Linked DNA regions of Homo sapiens: all the other regions are linked to region 2. Evidence: promoter capture Hi-C in human tissues and cell types (Jung and others, 2019). All regions are on one chromosome and are shown on one strand. The core of a region is centred on a gene start or on the middle of the fragment in contact, and the rest is flanking DNA. Distances in the headings are between cores, read along the strand shown. Region 1 overlaps MRPS21 (mitochondrial ribosomal protein S21). Region 2 holds the start of MLLT11 (MLLT11 transcription factor 7 cofactor). Region 3 holds the start of APH1A (aph-1A gamma-secretase subunit).

The links. Contacts are between HindIII fragments. The study calls those that stand out against the background at their distance.
Region 1: a fragment that was not itself captured here is called in contact with the fragment with the promoter of MLLT11 in region 2 in 1 of the 25 tissues and cell types used here (dorsolateral prefrontal cortex).
Region 3: the fragment with the promoter of APH1A here is called in contact with the fragment with the promoter of MLLT11 in region 2 in 1 of the 25 tissues and cell types used here (lymphoblastoid cells).

What each region holds. Positions count from the first base shown.
Region 1 is chr1:150,299,456-150,302,992 of GRCh38, forward strand. All of the region lies in intron 2 of MRPS21 (mitochondrial ribosomal protein S21), which reads left to right. Among named protein-coding and RNA genes, the nearest start is that of MRPS21, 7.4 kb to the left of the region's middle. The HindIII fragment of the contact is 5,855 bases long and covers 1-3,537 here.
Region 2 is chr1:151,058,648-151,062,184 of GRCh38, forward strand. MLLT11 (MLLT11 transcription factor 7 cofactor) reads left to right here and starts at 1,750. Exons shown (of 2, transcript NM_006818.4): 1 at 1,750-1,906. CDC42SE1 (CDC42 small effector 1) reads right to left here and starts at 975. Exons shown (of 5, transcript NM_020239.4): 1 at 832-975. RefSeq lists an enhancer at 1,296-1,887. The HindIII fragment of the contact is 8,370 bases long and covers 1-3,322 here.
Region 3 is chr1:150,267,727-150,271,871 of GRCh38, forward strand. It overlaps APH1A (aph-1A gamma-secretase subunit), which reads right to left and starts at 1,290. Exons shown (of 7, transcript NM_001077628.3): 1 at 972-1,290; 2 at 231-401; 3 at 1-63. The coding sequence starts at 1,084. It overlaps LOC124904414, which reads right to left. Exons shown (of 2, transcript XM_047438213.1): 2 at 1,330-1,603. The coding sequence ends at 1,330. It also overlaps a transcript of C1orf54 not described here. RefSeq lists a silencer at 1,072-1,529 and enhancers at 1,390-2,001, 1,583-1,632, 1,693-1,742. The HindIII fragment of the contact is 12,966 bases long and covers 1-4,145 here.

The DNA.
Region 1 (3,537 bases), core at 429-2,928, 760 kb before region 2:
GTTTGTTTGTTTGTTTGAGACGATGTCTCGCTCTTGTCCCCCAAGCTGGAGTGCAGTGGCATGATCTCGGCTCACTGCAACCTCCGCCTCCCAGGTTCAAGTGATTCTCCTGCCTCAGCCCCCCGTGTAGCTGGGATTACAGGCACTTGCCACCACGCCTGGCTAGTTTTGGTATTTTTAGTAGAGACGGGGTTTCACCATGTTGGCCAGGCTGGTCTCGAACTCCTGACCTCAGGTGATCCACCCGCCTCTGTCTCCCAAAGTGCTGGGATTACAGGTGTGAGCCACCACACCCAGCCCACATACTACTTTTATGGTTCTCTTTTTGTTGGTGACTGGCATTTTACACAAACCTATTTCCTGGGTCGAAGTGTTAATATTAGAGAGCCGGAGAGTGGTCAGTGTGACACCCTGTGGTTTCAACCCTGGCTGCCTATTAGGATCACCTAGGGAACGAACCATCAAGAAAACAAAACTAATGCCAGGGCCCAATCTGAGATGAATCAGAATCTCCAGGGGTTGCAACCTGGATGGCAGCATTTTAAAAAACATACCATGAGATTTCACCAGGATTGAAAATTATTATAATAGACTTGTAGCCTCCTGGCTGGGCACAGTGACTCATGCCTGTAATCCCAGCACTTTGGGAGGCTGAGGGGGGCGGATCATTTGAGGTTAGGAGTTCAAGACCAGCCTGGCCAACATGGTAAAACCCCGTCTCTACTAAAAATATAAAAATTAGCCGGGTATGATGGTGCATACCTGTAATCCCAGCTATTCGGGAGGCTGAGGCAGGAGAATCGCTTGAACCTGGGAGCTGGAGGTTGCAGTGAGCCGAGATCGCGCCACTGCACTCCAGCCTGGGTGACAAAGTGAGACCCTGTCTCAAAAAAAAAAAGGCTTGTAGCCTCCTTAAGGACAGAAACCTATGCTTTTTCATTTGTGTATCTCTTGGATTTACCAAAGTGTCTGGCACATCCAAAGCTCTCATTAAATGTCTACTTAATGAACATAAATGTTCCTTTATCTTTTTTGTCACTTATTTAATGTTTGTCAAACTTTTTTACTGAAGTGTCGTTAACAGCAGAGGAGAGTGAATGAACTATAGGGGTTCTGCTACTATAAGCAAACATGGAATTTCTTTGAAGCTTCCCTAAATTAAAATGTAAGGTGAACTTCGTATTCGTTGCCATTGCATCTGTTTTATGGGTAACACCCCCACTCCTTCGAGTTAAAATTGGTGCCTCCAGGCAGATGCATCAAATTTGTCCAGAAACTTGTATCCTTTGGCATTCTGTTAATTACCCTGGTTAAGAAGCACAGTATTACCTTTTCTTCAGGGATTAAAACACCAAAGTAGGAGTAGGATTTGGAAAAAAGCAATTTACATTGCTTAAAAAGAAAAGAATTATATTCTTTTCTTTTTAAGAAAGAAGAGGAGTGGTTAGAAAAATAAATTTGGCCAGGCGCGGTGGCTCACCCCTGTAAGCTCAGCACTTTGGGAGGCCGAGGCGGGTGGATCATCTGAGGTCAGGAGTTCAAGACCAGCCTGGCCAACATGATGAAACCCTGTCTCTACTAAAAAAAATACAAAAATTGGCCGGGCGCGGTGGCTCATGCCTGTAATCCCAGCACTTTGGGAGGCTGAGGGGGGCGGATCACGAGGTCAGGAGATCGAGACCATCCTGGCTAACACAGTGAAACCCCGTCTCTACTAAAAATACAAAAAATTAGCTGGGCGCCGTGGCGGGCGCCTATAGTCCCAGCTACTCGGGAGGCTGAGGCAGGAGAATGACGTGAACCCGGGAGGCGGAGCTTGCAGTGAGCCAAGATGGCGCCATTGCACTCCAACCTGGGGGACGAGAGCGAGACTTCGTCTCAAAAGAAAAAAAATTAGCCGGACATGGTGGCAGGTGCCTGTAATCCCAGCTACTCAGGAGGCTGAGGCAGGAGAATCGCTTGAACCCAGGAGGCGGAGGTTCCAGTGAGCCGAGATCGCGCCATTCATTGCACTCCAGCCTGGGGGACGAGAGCGAGACTTCGTCTCAAAAAAGGAAAAGAAATTCAAGTCCCATAGACTCAGAGTCCCATAAATTGTATTATAGCTTCGCGGGGCAGGGGGGAAATGAACAAATATTTCAGTCTTAGAATAATTTTCTTTTTCCTTTCTTTTTTTTTTAATACGGAGTCTCTCTCTGTTGCCCAGACTGCGTGGTCTCGCCTCACTGCAACCTCTGTCTCCCGGGTTCAAGTGATTCTCCTGCCTCAGCCTCCCGAGTAGCTGGGATTACAGGCACCTGCCACCACGTCCGGCTAATTTTTTGTAGTAGAGACGGGGTTTCACGATGTTGGCCAGGCTGGTCTCAAACTCCTGACCTCATGATTGGCCCGCCCGGCCTCCCAAAGCGCTGGGATTACAGGGGTGAGCCACCGTGCCCGGCCTCTTAGAATAATTTTCTAGGTAAGGACTTTCAAGCTTGCATACGTGAGCAGACTGATTTTGGAGTGATCCAATCTTCTGTTTTCCTGCTGCCTGTTAAACACATTTTCTGACTGATGCACTTTTCTGTTTCTTCTTTTTCTCTGCTTTTCCCAAATGTCCTCTCTCTAGCCACTTTTTCTGTATATCTTTCTCACACTCCAGGCCTCTCCTGATCTCTTTCAGCTTTCTCATAGCTGGTAGTTTAAAAATAATTTGCTTGTTCTGTGGTCTAATTACAACAATAGGTAGGAGAGCAAATGAGTCTAGAGGGAGGTGATTAAAGCTTTACCATGTTTGGAGTACAGAGAGAGTCTTACAAAGGAAATAGCCTACGTGTCTGTCCAGTGAGGCCACCACAAAATGCCTGTTATATAACTGGGGGCCCTCATTGGTGCCCCGGGATGAGAAGGTGGAGAGTGGGGGTTGCTAGGAAGCCCTGCATGATTGGCTGGCCCCCAAGCAAAGAAAGGTGAGTACACTGGAAGCATGCCCTGTTGACTCCTTTTACTCCTAGTGGGCTACCTTCTGGGTCCATTGAGTCCTTCTGCATACACGTCTGTCCTGACGTAGACTGGCTACACTGACATGTGAGTCTGCCACCCGCACCTCCCCCCGCTCCAGGCAGCTTGGCTCCTTTTACATAATCATTTGAATTTCACTAAAACTGGCAGCTGGTTTCTCCTTCAGTATTAGGTTGCCAGGCGCCCGAACTCCAGGCTGATCTGTTTACTCTAAAGCTCTTGATGTACTAGTCCTTGAACTACTTTTGGAAGCAGAAGGAAGCATCATTAGTAACACCCCCTCTATTCTTGTGTTTTACAAAGCTTTTCTTGCATCCTTTTCTGTTAGAGGTAAAGTTGAGTAGATACCTCTACTATAGGGACTCTGGGGCATTTGAAGATAATCTGTGCCTTTTTTAGTATGACTAGAACGTGTCGGGTAAGGGAGGGAATCCTCACCTGGCATCTTGGAATTTATTTGGTCTGTGTTTTGGAAGTAAGTAGTACATCCAGGGAATGCCATTTACCAACCCCCATCATTATATTCTTTCTTTT
Region 2 (3,537 bases), core at 500-2,999:
TGGAACCGGGAAAGCCACCCCCCGCCCCCACCAAGATCATACTAGGACTTGAGGGTCTCAGAGCTGTTGGGAGGTGAGCAGAAGGGATGGGAAAGAGGTGCCAGGGAGGAAGGATGTACAGGCTAGTTCTCTGGTCCTGTTCGGGCCCCAAACCGGTTCTCCCGGTCCCACCGCCTCTGGCCCTAAGGCCTCCAACCCGCGGCCTGACAAGCCCTCACATGAAGCAGCTGGAGAGAAAGAAAGAATCGAGAGAATGGCATGGGCAATTCTGGCTAGAAGCCCGGGGCAGCAGCTGGTCCCTGTGTGGAGACCCCGAGACATGGAGGGCTGCTGAGGGACTCTGGAGAAGCGGTGTGGACTCCATATTTCAGCCAAGTGACAGGCCCAACACCAACCTTCCCTTCCCCAGGAAAGGTCTTCTGGGGGCTTAAGAGGAAAGAGGGCTAGGCCCTAAGCCTCCCCTCCCCAAATATATTCAATCACACAGATTCCGTATCTGTCTCCCCCCACTACACAACTCTACCTAGAAGTTCTCTGCTGTTCTCAACCCTTAACCGGACTGGGACCTCTCTGGGAATCTTTCGGACCCTCTCCCTCCCACCTCCCCCAACATTCCAGTTCCTTCTTTTCCTTCTACTCTTCAGCGGCCTCAGCCTGCGCACCCCAGGAGCGTGGATGACTACGGCCACCCCGGGCGCGCACCCCTTTCCCACCACCCCAGCATCTCTGCAGCCCAGGACACCCGCCTCCCCCACACCCCGCATCCGGTGTGTCTCCGCCTGGCCCGGCCGGCGCGGCAGGCGGGCCAGGGGACCAACTGCACGGCCTCACCTGCTCTTCTCCACCATCCAGACGTTCAGCTACAGCTGGTGGGGGTGAGGGACTCTGCTCCGTGGCCGCCAGTGTGGGCTTCCCGGGCTAGCTCTGCGGCGAGGTGGGGGAGCCGAGTACGAGCCGGCAGAGGTGGGGCCGGCTGAGGGCGGAAGCGGCGGCGACGCGATTACGAAACCCGTCCGGCTCGGAGCCCGGCGCACTGCTCCCCTCTGGACTGCGGAGGCACTGCACTGCGCGGGACGTGGGAGGGTGCCTCTGCAGCCCCTCAAGGCCGCCGCCCCTGCGGGGAGAACTGGAGAATGCGGACACCTAGATGAGGCCCTGGCACCCAAGCTGGGGCCCCCGGAATCTCACGTTCCCTTTACTCGCCAGGCATTTCGGGGCAAAACGAAGCGGAGCCCCCCAAACCCCCAGACCTAACCAAGTTCAGAGATTCGCAGAAGCACGCCCCCCACCCCAAATTTATTGTGCTCTACCCAAAATGGAATAGGACTAGGTTTATTTACCCATTGTGAGGGTAGAGAGGCGAGTCTGGAGGAGCAGGGATTGGGAGAAGGGGTGGAAAAATACTCTGATTCTTAAAAATACTTTGTAACCTAAAGTCCTTAAATTGTGGAAGAAAGGAATACTCCTCCTTTCCATTGTAGTCTAGAGTTAAGATTTCAAATCCATAAATTAGAGGACCTAAAATTAGAGGGCAATTAACTGCTCATTCATTGGGCCCCCAGTCAGCACGGGGGTGCTGGAAGAGATCGGGAATAATAGCGCAGACCAATGAGCCTAGGGAGATGCTTTCATCGTCTCTCCTTCCCTCAAGTGTTCTGGAACCTATCATTTGAATTAGCCGAGTCAGGCAGGAGGGGGCGGGGAATCCTTCCGCCCTTCTTAGGAGGGGCTGCATTGCAGGGGGAGAGTGAACTGACAGACTCAGTCACTGAAGAGGGAAAAGGAGTGAGAAGACAAAGCCGTCAAAGCCCCAACAGCTTTGTATTTCTCCAGCCCGGCGCAGACCCCGGAGCTCCCGAGGCACTCCCTCCATCTTTGGAACACGCCAGTAATTGATTGATAACAGGTAAACCAAACTGAGGGAGGGGGCAGGGGGCTGCAAAGATAGAAGAGCGGCTGCTTATGGTTAGATTGAAAGACCCCACATGAGGTGGGGGACAGCTGAAGAGGAGAGAAGGGGGCGCTATGAACAATGGGTAGTTATTTCTTCACAGCATCCATGCCTTGTTACCTTATACAGACCATTAATCTCTAACAATTTACTTGTAGTTATTTCTCAGCACCTACCTCATTTCAAGTATCCTTTTCTGTAATTTATTGTCCTGTGTATTTAATATCTTCAGTCTACTTATCTTCCTTTTCAAACCATAATTTGTTTTACCAGCTGTTTAATTTTTAGTCCTACTGTATCTCTCTGTCCTCTACTTCCCTATACTTGCAATTTTTTTCTGTAGTGTTCTATGTTTCTCTGTAGGAGGGAGTTTGGGAGGGGGTTATATGGGATAATGTTGGGTGTAATCCTGACCTTTCTTTGGATAATCTCTTTCATTCCACCTCGAATCTTTGCTCCAAAGAAAGAGGCAGCCTAGGGTAGGAAAGGTGGGGGCCTCTGTGTTGGAGAACTGCCTGATTCCATAGTGAAATCAGTATAGCCCACAGGAGCTAGGTATGGGGACAGATTCTGGAAAAGAATGATTTGCAGCTCAGTGGAATTGGTGGAGGAATGCTAGTAGGAAAATCCAAGCTCTGACTGAGGCACACATTATGAGATGTCAGAGAGGTTCTGCTCCCCTCTACCACCACCACCACCTTGTCCTTCCCCCTTCCCCATGGTGGCAGCATGACACAGCAAGGCCCTGTTGAGTAGGCCTTGGATGCCCACAAAGGGTCTGGACAAAGGATATTTGGGCGTGTCTGTGTGGCTCCGAGAGTGTATCTTTCTAATCTATACATTTGCTAATCATGTATCTCTAAGAACAGAGTGATAATTAGATATTGCCTTTGCCTAAAATACCCGGATAATTTAAAGTGAAGGATAGTGGGAAGCATTTATTGAACATATATTGTGGTACAAGGCACTGTCAAAACCCTTTAAGTAAATGATACCATTTAAGATAATGAAAGATGTAAAGATAGATGAAGTAGGGCTGGAGAGCATTTGTGGAGGGGAAGGGGAAGCTAGCCAAAAAAGGATCTTTTGCGAAATTTGGAGTATTTGATAATTAAATCCATACTATATTAAATCAAAAATGTCATTACTACTTACATTAGTGAATAGCATTTTAACTTCAATTTTCTGTGTAGTATTACTTTATGTTCTTGACTTGATTTTAATGCCACGTATGTTTGCATGCATGTCTTTCTTGAATGTATTTGGTACCCTGTGTACATGTCTCTGGGTCAATGACATAGAGATTTTAGGCCTTTTGAGTTAATATTTCATAAAATTTGCTTTAGCTTTTTAAATTGCAAGATAGCTCTACCAAACACTCAGGGACTGTTTGAGCAGTTTTTTATACATACTCTGGTTGTAAGAAAAGGAGTCAGTTTGTCGAAGAGCTTTTTTTTTTTTCTCAGATTCTAGCTTGCTCTACTGCCCTTTGCTTTTCCCCATTCAGATCACAATTACAGGAACAATCACCTAAACCACGGAAAATCTATTCTTCAGCAACTAAAAATTCTTTTAAGTTTTGGGAA
Region 3 (4,145 bases), core at 40-2,539, 790 kb before region 2:
TGGCGGATGGAGATGGGTGATCTTCCGTCCTCACTCAGCGATGCTAACCCCTCATCTGCCTTCCTGGGGTGGGGTGGGGTAGGGGAAACATGAGGGAGGGCAGGGATGCTCCTTTCCCTCTAATGTCCTCCCTTAGTGCCTCCTCTTCCAAACCAGCACCCAGGGGCTGCCCCACTTCCCATAGTGCAGTCCTTTGCCCCTCTCCCCTCCAGACCACTCCATCTTCTTACTTAAGCAGCTTGTAGTAGGCAAAGCGGAACACCTCCTGTAGAAGGACAGAGACAGCAGCACCAAAAATCAGGAGGCCGTACTGGAGCCGGGCATCTGACCGGTCGGTCACATGGACCAAGATGAACCAGACCACAGAGGCCAGGAGCAGGGAGACCAGCCAGAAAAATGCCCTGAGAAAAGACAGGGGCAGTGAGACAAGCAATAGTAGTGGGAGCCAGAGAAATCAAGGAGGGAAACCAGCCAAAGCTGCTTGAAAAGTGGAAGTTAGCCTTCCGGATGGTTAGGGAGACATGGACCAGGTAGGGTAACTGTCTCCACCAAGAGACTCATCTGTAGAAAAGTGAACGCACTGGAAAGGGGAGAAATCTAATTAAAGAGTCTTCAGAGCGATGACAGCCAGAGTGTGCGAGCACGGAAGGGCGAGGTATCCGTTCCTGGATCCTCCCCTAAGGCACCTGACTCGGCCTGCCTAGGTCAGCACAGCCCCCTCACGAGTCTCGGCCTTGGGCCTTCTCTGACGTCGCTGGGAGGAATATAGGAGGAATCTGTGAGATCCTTGGAAGGTGGAAACCAACTGCGGGAAAGGACAAATCTCCCAGACCCAACCCCTCACCTCCGCCCAAACTTCACCTCCGACTTATCGTCCCCAATTCAGGCTCCCAGGCTTGCCCCAGTTCCTCCAGCCCCTTCCGCACCTCTCTCTTCGACGCTCTCCCGCGTCTCCCGGGCCCTCTACTCACCCTGCGACCAGGATGATAACGCGAAGCGGGTCCCCAGCCACAGTGATCAAGAAAAGCGCGAAGGCCGGGCCGAACGCGACGAAAGTGCAGCCGAAAAACACCGCAGCCCCCATGGCTGGTCAGGTGGGAAGGGGGGTGGGGGCCTGACCAGGACAGGCAAATGGGAGGGGCGCGCCAGCTGGGGAGTCCGCGTGGGGTGGCAACGCGACCCCACGAGGGGCGCGGTGCAATGTCACCCCCAGACCCCGGGGAAGGGGAAGGGGGGGAACCGAAACCCCAAATGAAGGTCCGCGCCACTTCCTCTACGGAAGCCGAAGAGGGGACAAATCCCGGCCGCAGCCCCACGGCCACCTCCCATCTAATCCCCACCCCCGGAAGGCCAATGGAGAATCAGCGCGGGCGGAGCTGCTCGACCTGCTGGGAGTTGTAGTCGCCTTCCGAGGCCTTGACTTCGTCCTGGGAGTGGCTCGAGCCGGTTAATGGGGGTGGGCCGGGAATGGACCAGTCGAGACACCAATTCCAGGGTTCGGTTGCGCTTCCGTCGCTGTTTCCTTTCGTCACTTTGTGGGGAAAAGTGGTAGCAATCATACCTCTTCTTGAAGGGCTGCAGAGGGGGTAGATCCTGTTTGAATCTAAGGGACAAATACAAAGAGAGCACAGGATGGGGCGCAGGGAGATAGGGACGGGTATTGTTCTTACTTGAATGAGAGGAAATGGGCTAGAGCTGCTGCCTAAGAGATGAAGATTACATTAAAAAGTAGGAGCTCTTCGGACAGACTAGTATAATAAACATGGAATACAGTATATCGCTAATGAAGCCTTCATCTGTAATGACAAGAGAATCGGAGAGAAGCAAAAGGAGCCTGGAGAGAAATGTTAGGAAGGCATTTTGAAAGAGTCCGGGAGTTTAAAAGCAATTAGAGCGATGGGGTTGAAGGAAAACGACACCCCCACCCCACCCCCGCCATAAATTCCTTTTATGTCATACTTCCTCTATTTATTTTCTGAAAAATGAACCTCAGTGGTGCGTTTTCCTGAGGCTGAGAGGGGTTGTATATTAGAGTGAATGAAAGTTAAAGTAGGCTGAGCGCGGTGGCTCACCCCTGTAATCCCAGCACTTTGGGAGGCCAGGAGTTTGAGACCAGCCTGGCCAACATGGCGAAACCCCATCTCTACTAAAAATACAAAAATTAGCCAGATGTGGTGGCGCACGCCTGTAATCCCAGCTACCTGGGAGGCTGAGGGGCAAATATAGCTTGAACCCAAGAGGCAGAGGTGGCAGTGAGCTGAGATTGCGCTACTGCACTACAGCCTGGGCAACGGAGTGAGGTTCTGTCTCAAAAAAGAAAAAGAAAGTTAAGTAGGAGAGGAGGGTATTGTAATCTCATTTGGATGGGGAGAGGTTAGTCCTTAGGGAAGATGTTAGGCAAAGGAATCTGAGGATGGAAAAGAGGAAAGAAATCTGGAATATTGTTTTTGAAAGCATAATCAAAGTACCAAAAAAAACCCCACAGAAATTGTTTAAAGATAACCAAACTTCCTTTCCTTCCTGGAAGTGATTTATTATTTAATCCATATGTGCACACTCACATACATGTTTTACATGTCTTCCAGGATATTCTGGAAAGGAGCTGAGGAATAGATTGTATAGATTTACACGGAGGCTGGTCACAGTGGCTCATGCCTGTAATCCCAGCACTTTCGGAGGCCAAGGCGGCTGGATCACTTGAGGTCAGGAGTTTGAGACTAGCCTGGCCAGTGTGGTAAAACCCCATCTCTACTAAAAATACAAAAAATTAGCCAGGCATGGTGGTGCGCACCTGTAGTCCCAGCTACTCAGGAGGCTGAGCCACGAGAATAGCTTGAATCTGAGAGGTGGAGGTTACAGTGAGCTGAGATCCCACCACTGCACTCCAACCTGGGCGACAGAGCAAGACTCTGTCTCTGAAAAAAAAGAAAGAAAATATTTACATGGAAAGTCACCAGGCAAATTATTCCCTAATGAGACTAAGAGGGTAGCTGGGCGCAGTGGCTCACGCCTGTAATCCCAGCACTTTGGGAGGTCGAGGCAGGCAGATCACGAGGTCAGGAGATCGAGACCATCCTGGCTAACACGATGAAACCCCGTTTCTACTAAAAATACAAAAAATTAGCCAGGCGTGGTGGCGGGCGCCTGTAGTCCCAGCTACTCAGGAGGCTGAGGCAGGAGAATGGCGTGAACCCAGGAGGCGGAGCTTGCAGTGAGCCGAGATCGTGCCACTGCACTCCAGCCTGGGCAACAGAGTGAGACTCCGTCTCAAAAAAAAAAAAAAAAAAATTAAGAGGGTAGCGTTATCATGACCTGTGTTCAAGACTCCAGTATGTCCTGCTTCTGAGCCCAGCAGGCAGAGTAAGGTGGATAGGAATGAGACAATTCTCATGTCTTTTTTTTTTGAGATGGAGTCTCACTCTGTTGCCTAGACTGGAGTACAGTGGTGCTATCTCGGCTCACTGCAACCTCTGCCTCCCAGGTTCAAGTGATTCTCCTGCTTCAGCCTCCCTAGTAGCTGGGATTACTGGCGCCTGCCACCAAGCCCAGCTAATTTTTGTATTTTTAGTAGAGACAAGGTTTCACCATGTTGGCCAGGCTGATCTCCTGACCTCAGGTGATCTGTCCGCCTAAGCCTCCCAAAGTACTGGGATTACAGGCGTGAGCCACTGTGGCCAGCTTCATCTCTCCATTGAGCTGTTACCACAGCATCTTCTGACCATTGACAGGAGGCTGTAAACCTATCTTGTTCATGGGTGTTTCCACAGACACTTGCATAGTGCCTGACTCATAGTAGATGTTGAGCAGATACTTATTAACTTCCCTTAAGAACAAAGCAAAACTGTCTTTTCTTATTCCCTTGCCTATAAGCTCTCAATTGCCTATCACACTAGGCCTAGCACACTGTGCCTAGCACGTATGTTGCTAAGGGTTTCTGAATTGAATGAACATGGGAAACATAAAAGCAGAGGAAAGGATAAAAACTCTACACCTGTAGGACGGAATGAAGGGAACATACCAAGTGACTGAATGTGGGAGGGAAGGTGTGGCACCTGTAGCAGGGAAAGAGACTATCTGCTTTCTCCCTTCTTCCAACCTGCATCCTGGAAGTTGAGAAAGAGATGAGGTGAGGCCGGGCACGGTGG